2 separate regions of the Homo sapiens genome follow, and region 2 is linked to region 1. Evidence: promoter capture Hi-C in 16 types of primary human blood cells and fetal thymus (Javierre and others, 2016). All regions are on one chromosome and are shown on one strand. The core of a region is centred on a gene start or on the middle of the fragment in contact, and the rest is flanking DNA. Distances in the headings are between cores, read along the strand shown.

Evidence for each region. Contacts are between HindIII fragments. The CHiCAGO score rates a contact against its expected background, and 5 or more counts as called.
Region 2: the fragment with the promoter of DHX34 here is called in contact with the fragment with the promoter of BICRA-AS2 in region 1 in 5 of 17 cell types (total B cells, erythroblasts, fetal thymus and 2 more); the score reaches 7.1 in total B cells.

What each region holds. Positions count from the first base shown.
Region 1 is chr19:47,606,601-47,610,513 of GRCh38, reverse strand. It overlaps BICRA-AS2 (BICRA antisense RNA 2), which reads left to right and starts at 1,885. Exons shown (of 1, transcript NR_186352.1): 1 at 1,885-2,641. BICRA (BRD4 interacting chromatin remodeling complex associated protein) reads right to left here and starts at 1,380. Exons shown (of 15, transcript NM_001394372.1): 1 at 1,346-1,380. RefSeq lists silencers at 1,196-1,265, 1,336-1,385, 1,446-1,495, 1,606-1,985, 2,046-2,125 and 4 more. The HindIII fragment of the contact is 11,162 bases long and covers 1-3,913 here.
Region 2 is chr19:47,347,245-47,351,157 of GRCh38, reverse strand. It overlaps DHX34 (DExH-box helicase 34), which reads right to left and starts at 1,843. Exons shown (of 17, transcript NM_014681.6): 1 at 1,806-1,843. C5AR2 (complement C5a receptor 2) reads right to left here. Exons shown (of 2, transcript NM_001271749.2): 2 at 3,829-3,913. RefSeq lists an enhancer at 1,099-2,003. The HindIII fragment of the contact is 2,372 bases long and covers 1,572-3,913 here.

The sequences.
Region 1 (3,913 bases), core at 636-3,135:
CTCCCCGGGAGAGCTGACACCGCGGCCTCTGACCCCACCTCCCGGGAAGTTCAGCTGCTCAGAACCACAAAGCAAAACAAAGGGGCGCGGAGAGGAAGAAGCCGCAGTGCCTCCCAATCACCGCCGGCGCCCGAGCCCGAGCCTAGCTCTCCCGCGGCTCCTTGCCCGGTCCTCCCGGCTGGCCGCGCACCAAGGCCCAAGCAGCCCCTGGTCCCTCGTCTCCCCGCGGCCGCCCGTGACAGGAGTCGGGGAAGCAGACGAGGGGCAGCCAGGGATGGGAAAACCAGATGGCTCCATCCCTCCTCCCTCCTCCTCCATCCCTCCCTCCGGGTGCCCGCGGCCTGGCTGCCCTCCGCAGGGGCCCGGGGAGGCCGCAGGCCCAGCTCGTCCGGGCTCACCCCGGGGAAAGGGCTGCCTTTGTCTAAAGGTCACCACCCGAGCGCGGTGCCCCGGCCGGGCCTGGTGCCTCCCGTTCCCAGGCCGAGGGGTAGGAGATGGGGGGCCGCCCCGAACCTCGGGAAGTGACAGGAGGCGCTCACCCCCCCCACCCCCGTAACGGCCCCCTCCGGGATGAGCCTCAGCTGGGGGTGGGGGAGGGGGTCACCTCCCTCTATTGCCGGGGGCTGGGGGTCAAGTCAACTCCTTTCATTGTTTAGGGGCGGTGCGAAGGGGGGAGCCCCGGTGGCCTCCTTCCCCATCCATCCCTCCCCAGCTTTCCAGGGCCCCCCACTGTCCGCGACACCCACGGGAGGGATTTGGGGAGGGGGCGCAGGGGCCGAGCGAGGCGGGGAGATGCAGGCTCTCCGCCTCCGGCCGGGAGATCACCGCCCGCTGCCCGGTGGCCTTCGCCTTCCCCGAAAGGCGGGGAGCGGGGCGAGGGGAGGGGGCCGGGACGGGGAGGGGGTCTCCGCGCCCCTCCCCCCGTGGAACGTTAGGTCTCCTCTCTCCGCCGCTCCATTGTATCCCCGGCAGCCGGCGGGAGGGCCGGGGAGGCACTGGGCGCCGGGTCTGGGCAGGGAAGCCGGTTGGGGGGGGGTCCCCATAGGATCGGGGCGGCGGCGGTGGTGGAAGAGACGCGGGGCTGGGGGTGCCGGTGGCGGTGGGCGCCGAGCAGGAAAAAAAAAAAAAAAAAAAAAAGGAGGCAGCGGGCGCTGCGCCCCGGCTGGGGGGCTGAGTGTGAGAGTGTCGCGGGGGTGGGTTCGGCCCCGGCTCCGGCTCCCCCCACACACACCCTCGCCGCCAACCCCCACTCCCCCCTCGCTTTTGCGCCCTGTCACAGCCCCGACTCGCAGGTAGAGAGAGTTAAGAGATTTAAAGAGAAATTGCTACATTGTGAGAAACTCACCCTGATGTTTGAGCAGCCGTCGGCGCGGGGTCTCCGAGACGGCCCCGCACGGGCTGCAAAGGGAGGACCCAGAAGGGGCCGGCCGGCCGGGCCGGTCAGCGCACTGCCTGATCGCATGGCGGCCGCTCGGCAGCCGCTGCCGGGCCCCCGCCGCCGCCCCGCGCCCAGGCCCGCGCGCCCCGGGCCCGCGCCCGTTCCGGGGAGCGCCCCTCGGGTATGCAAAAAAAAAAAAAATTTTTTTTAATTAAATGCAAACGGAAAAAAAAAAAAAAAAACCTCTCAGGTTTTGTGTTCCGCCCCCCACCCCCTTCCTCCTCCTCCTCCTCCTCCTCTTCCCTCCGCCCTCGCCGGAGGAGGGGCTTCAGGAATCCCCGCCCCGCGTCCGGGCGGACCAGCCCCGGCCCCGCCAGGCCGAGCGGCGGGACCCGGAGCCAATGGGAGGCTGCGGACGTCCGGGGACTGGGCCCTCCGCGCCGGCGCCGCCCCCGCCCCCAGCCCCAGTCCCGGGGGTTCAGGGGCGCGCCTGCTCGAGCTCGGGTGTAGTTTGTCGACTGCCTCGAGCCCTGATCCGGATGCTGGGGCGCGGGGGAGCTGAAGGGATCCGCGCTCCCAGACCGCCGGTCCGGCTGGGGAGGGGGCGCCGTGCGTCCTGGGCGCGTCCCCTGAGGCGGAGGACGGTCGTCCGGCGGGAGGACGCGTCCAGGGGGAGCGCCGCAGGTCCGAAAAGATAGCGGGAGTCGAGGATGAAGGAAATGGAGGGGATGGAGGGGAGTTCCCCCCGGAGGTGGGACCGCGCCGGAGCCCAGAGTTGGAGCCTGACAGGGTGGAAGGCGGCGGGGACTTCGGGGTGACAGGCCGGGACCCCAGGCGTGGCTCGATCACTCACCCTAGCTGGTCTCCGTCGAGCCACGGCGGCGCCGGGGAGGCGGGTCGGGCCTGCCTCGGAGCCTGTCCCCGGCCGCTCTGGCCGCGCTGATGGGATTCCCAGAAGCCCCAGGACGCCGCGGTGGTGTCGGGTCCGTTTCCGCCCCACCAGGCCGTAAACGCCCTGCTGGCGGGACACGGATTCACGCGTTGCCCTTAGCGAGCGCTTGGTGAGCGCCCACTGTGTGCGCTGCGCAGTGCTGGGGGCCCAGTGGGGACACAGAGCCCCCGGACCTGCCCTCCCGATGCTTGCAGCCCAGGGAGATTTATACTTTGTTTTAGTCCCTTCTGCCTCCCCAGTGCCCTAGAAAAGCTCGTGCACACAGTAGGTGAATGCGGGTTGAATAAATGAGTAATCGAGACAGATTGTGATTTTGTTGTTGTTGTGTTATATTTTGTTTTGTTTTGAGACGGAGTTTCGCTCTTTCGCCCAGGCTGGAGTGCAGTGGCACGATCTAGGCTCACCGCAACCTCCGTCCCCTGGGTTCAAGCTATTCTCGGCCTCCCAAAGTGCCCGGCCTCTGTTTTTTTAAGCCTTAACATGTGTTCTAGTATCTTGGCGGTACTACCCATAATATTTACTTCAACGTATTTTTTTTTTTTATAATTTATCGGCCAGGCGCAGTGGCTCACACCTGTAATCCCAACACTTTGGGAGGCCGAGGAGGGTAGATCACCTGAGGTCAGGAGTTCGAGACCAGCCTGGCCAACATGGTGAAACCCCTTCTCTACTAATAATACAAAACTTAGCTGGGTGTGGTGGTGCACGCCTGTAATCCCAGCTGCTTGGGAGGCTGAGGCAGGAGAATCGCTTGAATCCGGAAGGCAGAGGTTGCAGTGAGCCGAGATCACACCATTGCACTCCAGCCTGGGCGACAAGAGGGAAACTCTGTCTCAAAAATAGTAATAATAATAATAATTTATCCAGCCTGGGCAACATAGCGAGACCCTGTCCAAACAAAAATTAGCCCAGCATGGTGGTGTGTGCTTGTACTCCCAGCTACTTGGGAGGCTGAGGCAGGAGGATCGCTTGAGTCCAGGAAGTCGAGGTTGTAGTTCCCCATAGTCATGCCACTGCACTCCAGTCTGGGAGACAGCAAGACCCTGTCTCAAAAAAAAAAAGAAGAAGAAGAAATTAATTTTGAGAGACCACAGAGGGTAAGGGCCCTGACTGAAACCAGTCAGCCCCTGGTTCATATCCTGCCTTTGCCACTTTCTTGCTGTGTGACAGTGGACAAATTACCTCACCTCTGTGTGTCCTCATCTTTAACATGCTGATAATAATAGGCCTCATTTCATAGGGTCATGAGGAAGAATGAGCTAGGGAGAGCTGCACCTGAGAGGAAGTGCCATATAAATGCTGGCCGTTATCATTAGTAAGTAAACAGGAAGTTATCAGTTCCACAAGTGAATACCTTATGCAATGTCCCAAACATAAAAGCATGATAGATCTATAACTTAGTACAGTGGTGTTCACCGCAATGCTATTTACAATAGCAAAGACATGGAATCAACTCAGGTGCCCACCAACAGTGGATTGGATAAAGAAAATGTGATAAATGTACACCATGGAATACTATGCAGTCATAAAAAAGAATGAAGCCTGGTGCGGTGGCTCACACCTGTAATTCCAGCACTTTGGGA
Region 2 (3,913 bases), core at 594-3,093, 260 kb after region 1:
GAGCATTCTTCTGAGGCTAGAAACTGCTTATGCATGCTGGGCCCCACTGACAGCATCCCGCTCCTCTCAAGGTATCTATCTTTTTTGGCTTCTAGATTGTCTGCATCTTCTAGTTTCTGTATAACTGTGTCTCTGACCATCTTTTGGTCTCTTGGCCTATTTGCCCTGGGCTCATGGCCTTCAGTGGGTTTGTTTCCCCCTCTGTCCCCTCCATCTCTCTCCACTCCATCTTCAGGCCTCTGTCTCTTTTTCAGTCCGTCTTGTTCATCATCACCCTCATCTCTCTTCCCTGTCCTAGTCAGCTCGCATCTCTCTTCACTTATGAGTCATTCTGTAGTCTGATTTTTCTCTGTAATCCAACTCTTCCTTTCTCCATCTCTCTTCAGTTCTCCATTTGACTTTCTCCATCTTTCTCATTAAAAAAAAAATGCTTTTTCAGGCCGGGCATGGTGGCTCACGCCTATAATCCCAGCACTTTGGGAGGCTGAGGCAGGCAGATCACCTGAGGTCGGGAGTGCGAGACCAGCCTGACGAACATGGAAAAATCCCGTCTCTACTAAAAATACAAAATTAGCCAGGGTGGTGGCACCTGCCTGTAATCCCAGCTACTCTGGAGGCTGAGGCAGGAGACTCGCTTGAACCCAGGAGGCAGAGGTTGCAGTGAGCCAAGATCGCACCACTGCACTCCAGCCTGGGCAACAAGAGCGAAACTCCATCTCAAAAAAAAAAAAAAAAAATTCATTTTTGTTTTTTTGAAACAGGGTCTCACTCTGTCACCCAGCCTGAAGTGCAGTGGCACAATCACGGCGTACAGCAGCCTCGACCTCCCAAGCTCAAGTGATCCTCCCACCGCAGCCTCCCAAAGTGCTGTGGATGACAGGAGTGAGTCACCACGCCCTTTCTCATTTTCTGTTTGAATCTTTTTTTCCTCCCTTTTGTCCTTCCAGTATTCACTCTCCATCACCACCTCTCTCCATTTCCCCATCTAATACTTTATCTCCCAATATCAGAAGCTTTAGTAATAGCTCATGCTTACTTACTCACATTAACACACAGACCTATCCTATCTGCATGATCTATTCCTATCCCACACCTATGTACATACACACACACACTTTTCTCACGACTGTCAGGCACTATGATCACCCCCTATTTTACTGAGCAATAGAGAGGCTAAGTGAGTAGCCGAGTGTTACATGAGCCACTCAAATCCAGGGGTTCGGGCTCCACTCCCTCGCTTTTCCATTTCTCAGCATCGTTCTCCATTATCTCCAGCTTTTGTGGGGTTCTTCCTATTTCAACTGTCTCCATCCTTCCGTATCTCTCGGTCTCCCCCGTGATTCAGTGTCTCGTTTCTCCATCTAAATTCCATTTTTTCTGTTTCTAGTGTCCACGATCAGTTTCCGACTTTTCCCTCCACTCCCCAAGTTCATGGGCGACCACGCCTCTCGGCCTCGTGGGCTCTAAGACTCTCGCTGGAACCCATCGGCACTCTCGCCCACGCTCTCTAGTTTTCAGCTTCCCTCCTCTCCCAACACCCTCGTCTTTCAGTCCCTCAGTTTCTCGAAGCTTCTTTTCGTGCCTCCATTTCTTTCGGTCTCTGGCCTGTCGCCCAGGTTCTCCCAGGGACGCTCAGGTGCCATCTCTGTCCGCGTTTGCCGGCCCTTCGGCTGCCTCCTACATTTCTCCTCATCTCGAGACTTCCCTCGCCCCTGGACTCGCACCCCAAACTACCCCCAAGCGGCCCAACTCCGACAGCCATCGCCGCCACAACCCGGTACACCCGTCCCGCCCCCCTCACTTACCACACGCCGCGAACGCCTTAACTTCCGGTCCCAAGAGCGCTAGTCTTGCGCCTGCGCACACAGCCATCTCGTTCTGACCCCGCCCCGCCACCACAGAAGAGCCAATCGGAAGCTCTGGGCTGCCCAAGACCCATCTTGCGCCTGTGCACAGCACGCTTCCGCCCCGCCTCGCTTGGGGCGGAGCCTCGAGTGATTGCGCCCTCTAGAGGCCAGTAGAGGCATTGCGGTACAGACTTGCAAGCGCCTCCTCCCCGGCCCCGCCCTCTCCTCCCCAAGCATAGCCACGTGCGCCTCAGCTCCGGGACGCCGGGGTTTTAACCCAAAGAGAGAGCTGGTCTGGGGCCCAGGAACTTTTTTTTTTCTTTTGAGACATAGTCTCACTGTCTCCCAGGCTAGAGTGCAGTGGCGTTATCTCACCTCATTGCAATCTCCGCCTCCCAAGTTCAAACCATTCTCCTGCCTCAGCCTCTCGAGTAGCTGGGATTACAGGCGCACACCACTACACCTGGCTGATTTTTGTATTTTTAGTAGAGACGAGGTTTCACGATTTGGGCCAGGCTGGTCTCCAGCTCCTGATCTCAAGTGATCCGCCCGCCTTGGCCTCCCAAAGCACTGAGATTACAGATGTGGGGCATCTCACTCAGCCTCTACCTCTTTTCTTTCTACAACCCCATTTTCTGTTACCTTTCTCTGCAATAAACTCAATCACACACATTCAGGAAGACCCCCAAGTATAGAAACAATCTCATTAGCCAGCAATGCACCCTCTCTTTTATTAACTGAAAGAAGAAACAGCTGGGCACGGCGGCTCACGCCTGTAATCCCAACAGTTTGAGAGGCCGGGGTAGGTGGATCACCTGAGGTCAGGCGTTCCACACCAGCCTGGGCAATATGGCCAACCCCTGTTTCTACAAAAAAATACAAAAGTTAGTCGGATATGGTAGTGTGTGCCTGTAGTCCCAGCTACTCAAGAGGCTGAGGTGGGAGGATCGATTGAACCTAGGAGGCTGAGAGACTGAGGCTGCAGTGAGCCATGATGGTACCACCGCACTCCAGCCTGGGTGACAGAGCCAGACTGTCTCAAAAAAAGAAAAAAGTGTTGTTGTTTTTTTTTTCTGAGACGGAGTCTCGCTGTCGCCCAGGTTGGAGTGCGGTGGCGCGATCTCGGCCCACTGCAGGCTCCGCCTCCCAGGTTCCCGCCATTCTCCTGCCTGAGCCTCCCGCATAGCTGGGACTACAGGCGCCCGCCACCACGCCCGGCTAATTTTTTGTATTTTTAGTAGAGACGGGGTTTCACTGTGTTAGCCAGGATGGTCTCGATCTCCTGACCTCGTGATCCGCCCACCTCGGCCTCCCAAAGTGCTGGGATTACAGGCATGAGCCACCGTGCCTGGCCAGAAAAAAGTTCTATGTCTAAAAAAAAGAAGGACTCTAAAGTTTTTGGCCTGAGCATTTGGAAATATGGAGTCACCATCTACTACCATCAGGAAGACGTGGGAGAGAGGCTAGAGAGAAAATCCGAAGATCTGTTTTCAGCATATTGTTTGAGTTATGCATTGGACATCAACTGGGGATGTCAAGTGGAACGTTGGATATAATTATCAAGCCTCTGGAAAACAACTTAGAGATAGAGAAGCCAATTCATACATTATTATCAAAAGAAGAAGAATAAATGGACTAAGCATTCTGCTTAAAATTTCCAAACAAGGCCAGGTGCGGTGGCTCACGCCTGTAATCCCAGCACTTTGGGAGGCCGAGGCAGGTGGATTACCTGAGGTCAGGAGTTCGAGACCAGCTAAGCCAACATGATGAAATCCCGTCTCTACTAAAAATATAAAAAATTAGCCAGGCATGATGACGGACACCTGTAATCCCAGCTTCTCGGGAGGCTGAGGCAAGAGAATCGCTTGAACCCAGGAGGTGGAGGTTGCAGTGAGCCAACATCGCATCATTGCACTCTAGCCTGGGCGACAAGGAGAAACTCTGTCTCAAATAAACAAACAAACAAATAAATAAATAAATAAATAATCCAAACAATAATTATAATTTTTAAAAAAGGAAAATTGGAGGAAATGAACAACAAATGGAAATCAACAAGAAAGCCACAG